Regions from separate parts of the Homo sapiens genome. Here region 1 is linked to region 2. The links are contacts of gene promoters, found by promoter capture Hi-C in blood cells and fetal thymus (Javierre and others, 2016). All regions are on one chromosome and are shown on one strand. The core of a region is centred on a gene start or on the middle of the fragment in contact, and the rest is flanking DNA. Distances in the headings are between cores, read along the strand shown.

Region 1 (5,327 bases), core at 2,493-4,992, 100 kb before region 2:
GCAGCCGATCCACACTGGGGAAGGCGGGGCTGCCTGAACCAGGAGTGACAGCTTCCTCCTGGATTTTTGCGAAAATATCCAAAATATACTCTTCGCAACCCACGTTGTAGGGTCCGCAGCCTGTGCTCCCCTGGGTGAACCTGTGAGGCCCCTGACCCCAGGGATGCCTCCCGCACAGCTCAGAGCTGGGCCACACCGGAGTCACACTCCCCAGGTCCCCTCCCCATTAGAAGTGTATGCAGTTATGATCCTGCCCTAGAGAGAAAGAATTTAAAGGTCCCGGAATGTCATAGCCCTCCCAAATGTCTTAGCCCTCCGCCACCCACACCTTCAGGTAGGCGGCCCTGTCCATGCTGGGTCTTGAGGCAAGCTCGGGGTGGGGGTAGGTTAGATGCAGGGGTGCTGAGGGTCCAAGGAAAGGACACAGAGGCCGCTGCTTAGGCAGCACCCAGGGAGGGGACAAGCCAGAAACAGCCTGGAGCAGGCACCCCCCACCCTGGCCCAGGAAGCCCCCAGATGTCCTGAGGAGGCCTCCATAGACAGGAGGGGCCTTGTGGGCTGGTGATGAATATGGGCACTGTGGGAGACAAATGGGGGCACAGAGGAGTTCTCACAGCTGTCGTTTAGATGGTGGCTCTGGGGAAATGCTTGAAGGGGCTAAGGGTGGAGGCAGGGGGCCTGCTGGAGGCCATCACAGCCATCTTGCCAGCCAGAATGGTGGCCCCAACAGGGGGAGTGGGAGAGAGAGGAAGGGCCGCCTGCAGACTTCAAGAGCCCCTGGTGGCCAGGGGCCGCCTTGGTGCATGTGTGCTCACTTGGCACAGACACACCTCCATGCAGACTCAGATGACAGCCATCGTGGGTGGGGCAGGGGTTTCTGTGGCTCCAGGGCTCAGGGACAGCCCACTGGGAGGTTCCCACAAGACCAACCTTTGACTTACAAAGCCCCCAAGCTTTCCCAGGCAGAGGCCACAGAGAAGAGGGATGAGCGTCTCCCAGACCTTGGAGGTGCAGGGACATCAGAGAAGGAGATGTCCCTGCTCCTGGGGCTCTTGCTTCATGGGGAGCTGGCCCCAGAAACTGATGGTTTGGGGGGCTGGGGTAAGCACTGCTACCAAAGTGGTCCCGGCCACTAAGGGCCCCCACGTGGGGAAGGCATCCTGGGGGCTGGCGGGAGGAGGTGGCGAGCCTGTGGCGTGCAGGGTGCAAAGGCTCCCAGACCCAAGATGGCAGGGGCATTGGAGTCACGAGGGGAATTTGCTGCCCGAGGCAGGGGCACCAGCTGCAGCAGGATCTGAAACAGGAGGAGCTCAGGTTTGGTTTCAAAATGATCCGCGTTCCGCACAGGGCTGTCCCGTCACTCACCTGACCCTGTCACGGGCACGCCTGATGTTCTCCGTCTCCCCAGCATTTTAAGTGACACTCCTACTATATGTGCCCTGAAAGCTTTTTTTTTTTTTTTTTTTTCTGATTTCCTACAACTTCTTGGCATCTGTCCCCAGGAAGGCTAGACCAGCCTCACTGGCGTCCCTCGCTCCCCTTCATCCTCACGCCAGCATCACTGTGTTTCTGGGGATTTGTTACCGCGAGAGCTAGAGAGTGGTGAGAGGCTGCCAGCCCCTCGGACTTGCTGTGCTGGGCAGGAGGGTGGTGGTCCTGGCCCCGGACCCCGAATTCCCATGGAGAACAGAGGCAGGCAGGCTCCTGGCTCTGCCTTCACATTTCTGTGATGGGCTTAACTACCTCCTGCTCATGGGAACCAGCCTGTTCCTGTTTGGAAGATACAGGTAACTCCCTGGTGGCCCCGCCTCACCTGCCTTTCTGGTTGTTTTTTCCAGTCCTGGACTGCTCTTCCTGCTCTTCAGCAGCCTTCGAGCTGGTAAGTTCAGGGGGTGCTTTGCCATGGGGCGCCCAGCTCAGAGATGGGCTCTCCGGCTGTGTGGACTGCTGGCCGCAGGGCACTGGGAGCAGCCTCACCAGGCTCCTTCTTGCTTCTCAAGTGGTCCTTTGGAGACAGTTGGACCCTAAACCTAGGTTGCTGCACAGGATAGAAGCGTTTCCTTAAAGGGAAACACTTCTGCAAACTCCGGAGTTCTTGTTTGACTCCGTCTTTGTTGCGGGCAGAATGCAGTTCCTCTGAGCCAGGGCTTCCTGGGTCCCCTGGTCTCCCTGTCCCAGGCAGCAGCCCTGCTGAGCCCTAAGAGCCACCAGCCTCTGGAAGAGCCAGGAATAAGGACGAAGCACCGCAGCACAAACCTGAAACCTTGCCAAGCCTTCCAGCCCAGAGGGCTTTGGGGGCAGGGGACACACACAGATTTTCCTGCAGGTGCCAGGTGCAGTGGCTCACTCCTGTAATCCCAGGACTTTGGGAGGCCAAGGCGGGTGGATCACCTGAGGTCAGGAGTTCGAGACCAGGCTGGCCAACATAGTGAAGCCCGATCTCTACTAAAAATACAAAAAATTAGCTGGGCATGGTGGCGGGCACCTGTAATCCCAGCTACTTGGGAGGGTGAGGCAGGAGAATGGCGTGAACCCCAGAGTCGGGGGTTGCAGTGAGCTGAGATCACGCCATTGCACCCCAGCCTGGGTGACGGAGCAAGACTCCATCTCAAAAAAAAAGATTTTCCCACAGGCATTTACGTAGCTGCACAAACAGTAAAGCTACCCTGTGTCTGCCACATTTGTGACAGCTTTCCTACTGCAAGTGAGCAGCAATATAATGTAATTGCTGAGAAATTCTTTTCCCTTAAATGCCTTTCCCTTAAAGAACTTTTTATTGTGCATTAATTATAGACTCCCGAGAAGTAGTAAAAGTAGTGCTGAGTAACAAAAATAACACTGAGCGGCCAGGCCCCATCCAGCCGCTCCTCCCCATGGCAGCCCCTTACATAACAGGAGTGTGTCATCGAAGCCAAAGACTGACATGGACCTCACCATGAAATGTCTGCGTTTTTCAAGTTTGACTGCATTCCTACATGTGCCTTGTTAATAAATTCTGAGCCACCGTTGGTGTTTGAGGCTTGAAACCCAAAGTCTGCCCCATAGAGTAGCTTCATGGCCTGGGCATCAGCCTCCGAAAACAGATTTTGCACCTTTTGGGCCATTGCAGATACTCAGGAGAAGGAAGTCAGAGCGATGGTAGGCAGCGACGTGGAGCTCAGCTGCGCTTGCCCTGAAGGAAGCCGTTTTGATTTAAATGATGTTTACGTATATTGGCAAACCAGTGAGTCGAAAACCGTGGTGACCTACCACATCCCACAGAACAGCTCCTTGGAAAACGTGGACAGCCGCTACCGGAACCGAGCCCTGATGTCACCGGCCGGCATGCTGCGGGGCGACTTCTCCCTGCGCTTGTTCAACGTCACCCCCCAGGACGAGCAGAAGTTTCACTGCCTGGTGTTGAGCCAATCCCTGGGATTCCAGGAGGTTTTGAGCGTTGAGGTTACACTGCATGTGGCAGGTAGGACCATCGAGGCGGGGAGAGCTAGGTCCATCCCAGCCTCACATCGTGGACAAGTGTTCATGAAACCCCCTCCCTGGCTCATTCACTGTTTCTTCCAGTGAAGAAAATTCTCATCTGTGTTATCAGGCTTCTGTCTAACTTCGAGGGAAACTAAACAGCTGAAAAATCCTTAGTGCATGACCTGCGGCTGCTTGGTTTCCCGGAAGAGCTCCTACCCTTGCTGTCTTTGCCTCTTGAGTTAGTTAGCTTTTGTTTTTGTTTTTGTTTTTTGAGACGGAGTCTCGCTCTGTCACCCAGGCTGCAGTGCAGTGGCACAATCTTGGCTCACCGCAACCCCCGCCTCCTGGGTTCAAGCAATTCTCCACAGCCTCCCGAGTAGCTGGGACTACAGGCGCGTGCCACCACACCCAGCTAATTTTTGTATTTTTAGTAGAGACAGGGTTTCACCATGTTGGCCAGGCTGGTCTCAAATTCCTGGCCTCGTGATCCGCCCGCCTCAGCCTCCCAAAGTGCTGGGATTACAGGTGTGAGCCACCGCGCCTGGCCAATTAGTTTGTTTTTTGAGACAGGGTCTCACTGTTGCCCAGGCTGGAGTGCAGTAGCGTGATCACGCTGCAGCCTTGACCTCCTGAGCTCAAGCAATTCTCCTGCTTCAGCCTCCTGAGTATCTGGGACTACAGGCACATGCCACCTCGCCTGGCTAATTTTGATTATTTGTAGAAATGGGGTCTCACTATGTTGCCCAGGCTGGTCTCAAACTCCTGGACACAAGCGATCCTCCTGCCTCACCCTCCCAAAGTGCTGTGATTACAGGCGTGAGCCACCACATCCAAACTAGAGTTTTAAAAGTGAAATTTGAAGGGAACTCTATAAAGCACTAAATGAGAACAAAATTTAAGAGAAAAATAAGAGGCAACCAAGGAGCTCTGGGCAGTTCATTGGGGAGAACAGCTGTGTCCATTTCAGATGGACTGTGAGCCCCTGTGTCAGCAGTGAGAATGACCAGATCCAAATGAGGGGGTCCCGGCACAGCCGACGGCTGTGGAGTGGGGGGTCTGTGGGTGCCAGTCACTGCCCGACAGGCTCAGCGGTCCCTGGCTACTGGGACTGGCTTGGGGGATGACTCTTGGGCAGGACAGGGCGGAGCCTGCTGCTCGGACCACAGCCCTGGTCCTGGCCTGTCACCCATGTCGGGGCACAATGGGCCGCCTCCCCTCTGACCCAGCCTTGGCACCGTGTACCCTCTGTTTCTTGACCAGCAGGGTCTGGCATCTCTCACAATCTGTTTCCCTCCCCTGCAGCAAACTTCAGCGTGCCCGTCGTCAGCGCCCCCCACAGCCCCTCCCAGGATGAGCTCACCTTCACGTGTACATCCATAAACGGCTACCCCAGGCCCAACGTGTACTGGATCAATAAGACGGACAACAGCCTGCTGGACCAGGCTCTGCAGAATGACACCGTCTTCTTGAACATGCGGGGCTTGTATGACGTGGTCAGCGTGCTGAGGATCGCACGGACCCCCAGCGTGAACATTGGCTGCTGCATAGAGAACGTGCTTCTGCAGCAGAACCTGACTGTCGGCAGCCAGACAGGTAAGGTCCCGGCGCCTGCGTGCTGAGCTGTGCCCGACAGTGGGGCCAGGGCTGGCTTGGGAGAGCCTCTGAGGTAGGAGACAAAAAGTCCCTTCGACGCGGCTCAGCACCCGAAAGGTGGTTGGAAGGGAGGGGAGGTGAGAGGCACATGCCGCACAGTGAGAACCACCGCGGTCTCTGGGAACAGGAATGGGTGCCGTGCCCAGTGCATATTGCTCCATTTTCTTCACCTGGAGTCGGTTTTCTTAAACCTACTTTACAGATGAGGGCTG
Region 2 (5,115 bases), core at 94-2,593:
CACCACCCAGCTCTCCCCTCTCCAGTTCACCCTGAACCACATGGGAACTACAGGTACCTGGCACGCGTGGTGGCCTCCTGCCCTACTGGTTCGGCCTGCAGTCATTTCCAGTAGCACAGGAAATCAGGCCACCAAGCACTCAGCAACAGCTGACCAGTTACGTAAACAGTAACCTGTCTAGGACCCAGAAATACCACGCAACTGTTAAAATGATGTTGAGAACTGAATGAATGGGAATTACTTCCCATGCGTCAGAAACATTTGCAAAACACGGGTGAGTGTGATCTCAGTGTTTTCAAAATGTGTGTGTCCTGAAAAACACTCAAGTGAAATGCTAAGTCATTTCTAGGCTCTAGGTGACAGCATAAGCGACACTTAAAAACTGTTCTTTCTTAGCGTCTCCCTGGGTTTTGCAAGTCGTTTTTGCTTTTTTTTAGCCAAGAATAGGGTATTTAAAATACAAGCTCTCTCGGCCGGGTGCAGTGGCTCATGCCTGTAATCCCAGCACTTTGGGAGGCCAAAGCGGGAGGATCACTTGAGGTCAGGAGTTTGAGACCAGCCTGGCCAACATGGTGAAACTCCGTATCTACCAAAAATACACAAATTAGTTGGGTGTGGTGGTGCATGCTTGTAGTCCCAGCTACTCGGAAGGCTGAGGCAGGAGAATCGCTTGAACCCAGGAGGCGGAGGCCGCAGTGAGCCAAGATCGCGCCATTGCACTCCAGACTGGGCGCTGTCTCAAAAGACAAAAAGTAAAAATAAAATAAAATACATGCTTTCTCTAAGCTGTTCAAAAAAGAGTAAACTTCACTGGTGGAGAGGCCTTCTCGAGGCCCCCGGGGTGGAGGACCAGCTGCCCCTGAGGACTTACGCCGAGGCCTCGTGGATCTCGGTCCCATCGTAGACTCCGCATCCAGACAGCACCTGCGAGAGGAGCGGGAGCTGACCCGGGGGAAAGGGGCCGACCTGGGCGGCGGGAGTTGACTGGGGGGAAAGGGGCCGACCTGGGCCGCGGGCGCTGACCCGGGAAAATGGGGCCGACCTGGGCCGCAGGAGCTGACTTGGGGTGAAGGAGCCGACGTGGGGCGGCGGGAGCGGACCTAGGAAGAGGGGCCGACCTTGGGCAGAGAACAGCGAAGGCTGATCTCTGGAGGCGGGAGCTGACCTCACCCCCTCCGTCCACTCACCAGCGCGACCCTGGCCGCGGGGCGCGGCACGGAGAGGTGAAGGGCTGCGCGCTGGGAAGGCGTCCGACCGCCGGGGGACAGGGACGTGAATGCAGATGCCGCAGCGAGCCTCGAGGCCACCAGGACCCTCACAGCCGCCATTGCGGTGAGGACAGCGGGGTCGGAAGGTCACGCAGGGACAGAGCGTGCGCACCCACCCCTCTACAAACGCGTTGCTCGTCGGGACTGCGCCTGCGCAGCCTTCTGGGCGGAGCCAAGACCCGCCCCCGTCTCAGCCCTATCCAGTGAGTTCGCCGGTGGGCGGGGGCCGCGCCTGCGCAGAGCCTCCGAATAGAGTTCCGGGAACCCTGTCTTCCTTCCGGTGGTGGCTGAGGGCTCGTGCTCGAGGCTGAGGGATGCTGGTGACTCCCGGGGTCCCCAGCCCCGCCCCCATCGGACGCCTCCACAGGCGGCGCACCCTTTCCGCCATCCGCAGAGCAAGGCTGCCTCGGGGCGGCTCAGTCCGGCGCTTCTTACCTTACCTCCGTCTCATCCTTAACTCACCACGAGCGTCCAGGGTCCACATCCTCCTAAATGGCCACTCGTCTTAATCTCGGCGTCAGGACCCACGCGGGGTCAGGACTACCCCTCCGCTTCCATGACTGTCTCCTCGCGGCTCCGGCTCCCACGGAGCGACCCCTCCGGGTTTTACTGACCCCGGGATGTTGTATCCTGGAAACTGCAGTTCCACCCAGGGGCTTGATCTGGGTTAGTCTGGGGGCAAGTGAGCCGCCGATTCTGTTTGGGTTTTTTTTTTTTTTTTTTTGAGACGGAGTTTCCCTCTTGTTGCCCGGGCTGGAGTGCAATGGCGCGAAGTCGGCTCAACGCAACCTCCGCCTCCCAGGTTCAAGCGACTCTTCTGCCTCAGCCTCCCAAGTAGCTGGGACTACAGGCATGCGCCACCACGCCAGGCTAATTTTGTATTTTTAGTAGAGACGGGGTTTCTCCATGTTGGTCTGGCTGGTCTTGAACTCCCGAGCTCAGGTGATCTGCCCGCCTCGGACTCCCAAAGTGCTGGGATTACAGGCGTGAGCCACCATTCCCGGGCGCTGTTTGGGTTTGTTTTTTTGTTTTTGTTTTTTACGTTCACAGCATGGACGGTCAGTGTGAAGATCCCAGCTGCTCGGGTCCTAGCTGGAATTCTTCCATTAAAAAAATCTGTTTGTTATGCATGGGTTAGTTCACAGAGGAATAGCTGGATAAGTGCTGGCTTTTTCCCCGATTTACCCATTTTCAACCTAATAATGCAGGTTTTTGAAATAATGTGAATGGTTACTGCTGGCGGATGTTCACAGGGACACACCGGATTCTACAGACACATCTGATGATCTAGCCACGGCTGTCACTTTCCCCACTGCCGCGTTGTCCATCACTAGGACTTTACTGCCAATCCTTGCAAGATAGTGGGGAACTAGAATAACAGACATGGGACATTACCAGTTACAACCAAAGACAAGCTTGGCACATTTGACTGTCCTCGTTCCTGCTCCTCCGTGCCTGGCCCTCTTCAGGCTTCTCAGCTCCTGGGGAGCGGCCAGCCAGGGAGCATCAGCTGGTGGGAGCGATGGGGTTGTGGGATGGCACAAAAAAACACCAAGCGCCACTCAGAAAGGAAATGCCGAATGCAGACTCTCACTCAGTCGGTGTGGGGGCCAGGACCCTGTCTCTACCAAGTGTGCGGGAGCTGCCCCTGGCCGGGAGCTCCCAGACCCCACTGCAGAGCCGCAGCTCCAGTTGTCCCAGGGGCGACTACTCAGGTGTCCATCGCCATGCACATGTGACACAGAAAAGGGTGAGGCGAGGAGGGGGAACGCTGGAAATTGTTTCACGGAAAAGGGCGAGGCAAGGGAGGGGAACACTGGAACTTGTGCTTTGGGTAGGCGATAGCTAAGGATTCTCTCTCGTCTGGGTCACGGAGATTGTGCAGCCACAGAACACCTGGTGTCATCAGGGCCTGAGCTCCTCCCTTCTACAAAGACCTCTGGTCTGCAGGCCTGCAGGTACAGTGCTGTGGGCCACAAGGCACTGCCTGTCGTATTCATCTCCACTCTCTAGCACATCTGGCCTCACGCCACCCCCGGGAGGCCGGCAGGCAGATATCAGCTCCACTTCCCAGATAAGCAAGGGAGCCAGGTACTACCCAGGGTCTTGGGGGCCACACCGCTGGCGAGGGACAGGCTGGGCCTGGCAGACAGCACTGGCAGTCGGTGAAGTGCCCACCTCAGTGTCAGCCTCAGGTCCTGACCCTGGAGGCTGCTGTTACTGAGCTGTGGGGACCAGGATGCCCTACCATGATGGAGACCCAAGCCTCTCTCATGATGACTATTCCCAAGGGCACTGCAGAGGGGAGGAGCTGTCTCCTCCTCCGTGTGGCCCACGCAGAGCTGGTGCAGGTCTGAGTGAGCTCACCAAGACAGGCCAATCCCAGCCCCAGACTCCAAAGCATCCCCAAGAGGTCAGGGAGAGGCTCTGTGCCCCTGACCCCAAGGATATGCACAGGTCACAAGGCAGAGCCCCCGCTAGACAGCAGGAGCACCCTGCTCTGTCAGCCTGCTTCCCCAGGACGGAGGCCCTGGTGGTAAGGCAGGCAGGTCTTGAGCCCCCACAAGACAGCAGGATACAACATAACCCTTTTTAATCTGAAGTGTAGACTTCATCCTCACGTTAGAAAACTCCATCTTTTTTTTAATCCCTAAGTTCTTTATCAAACCTTTATGTTAAAGATATAAATAAGTCTCATACAAAGTTCATGTGAATACCTCTCTGAGACGCATTTTCAACATTCATCACCGTTCACACGGCCCCGCTCCTGGGGCCAGGTGCCAGTGCGTGCCGGCCCCTGGCGTGACCCGTCGGCTCGCTGTCCTGATGGGCTACATGTGTGCACAGGAAAAGCAAGTCACTACCACTAGTGACAGTATTTCAGCTGTTCTCTGGACCCCTCCTCTTTGCTGGCCCAGGTGGCACAAGGGTCCCATCTCCCTGGCAGGTCTTAGCCGGCACAATCCAACGCTGCAACCGGCTGGCTCTAGGCCAGCATCTCTTCTTCTGAGTCTCTGCCTCCTCCTCCAAGCAGATGCAGGCTGTCATCTTCAGATGCTTCTGCCTCCTCCTCACTTCCCAGCGGGTCTAGGGAGCGTTTTGTGCCCCGCTGCTTGGAAACTGCTAGTGCGTACTGCATGTTATAGTGGTTCCAGCTACAGCTGTCAATCACACAGGGATGGTCAATGCCAGCAACGCCCAGGCCCTGGCCTGTCCTGCACCCAACCACCTCCTCTGTGACCCCTGAGAAAAGCAGCAGGGGCTGGACATGCCGGTTCCTCCACCCCAGCAGCCATTTTTTTCCTCTTTTCCCTGCCCCAACAATCTGGTTCTGCCCCATCCAGCCCTGGGGCAGCAAAGGCCTTCAAGGACCCAAGGACCCAACTGTAACATCCCATCCCTTTGGGGTCATCCTGGCAGCTCAGCCCTTCCGCTGGGCCCAATCTAGATGGCTTCACCAGCAAGTTCCACCAAACACTTAGGAAGAGACCGCTGCAGAGCTATGTGGTGTTGTGGAGCGAGAGGGGAGGAAGGCACGCTCTGAATCAGTTAATTTTCTGAGTTAATGGAATAAAGGAGAAAAGTGATGCCACCATCACTTTACATAGGAAAGGAGAACTGAAAGATAAATGGATGAGAAAGGAAGGAAGCGCCCCATCGCATCTGCAGGGCACAGGACCCTCTGTGCAGGACTCTTCCTGACAGCCAATGGCAACCCTACAGATTGGCAGTGAACGCCTAGACAGGAGGTCCAAGGAACAATGCACTTACGTGAACTCTAAAAACATCCCATAAGAGGGAATAAATCTAAAGGAGCTGGGCCGGGTATGGTGGCTCATACCTATAA

The links. The method cuts DNA at HindIII sites, captures the fragments that hold promoters and counts their contacts. A CHiCAGO score of 5 or more calls a contact.
Region 1: a fragment that was not itself captured here is called in contact with the fragment with the promoter of GATD3 in region 2 in 2 of 17 cell types (naive B cells and total B cells); the score reaches 7.3 in naive B cells.

Annotation. Positions count from the first base shown.
Region 1 is chr21:44,235,000-44,240,326 of GRCh38, reverse strand. It overlaps ICOSLG (inducible T cell costimulator ligand), which reads left to right. Exons shown (of 7, transcript NM_015259.6): 2 at 1,839-1,879; 3 at 3,110-3,460; 4 at 4,765-5,055. Among named protein-coding and RNA genes, the nearest start is that of ICOSLG, 3.3 kb to the left of the region's middle. RefSeq lists an enhancer at 129-907. The HindIII fragment of the contact is 4,588 bases long and covers 1,449-5,327 here.
Region 2 is chr21:44,129,911-44,135,025 of GRCh38, reverse strand. It overlaps GATD3 (glutamine amidotransferase class 1 domain containing 3), which reads right to left and starts at 1,343. Exons shown (of 7, transcript NM_004649.8): 1 at 1,188-1,343; 2 at 872-924. The coding sequence starts at 1,328. PWP2 (PWP2 small subunit processome component) reads right to left here. Exons shown (of 21, transcript NM_005049.3): 21 at 3,845-4,429. The coding sequence ends at 4,255. RefSeq lists enhancers at 260-787, 788-1,315, 1,316-1,843. The HindIII fragment of the contact is 13,325 bases long and covers 1-2,685 here.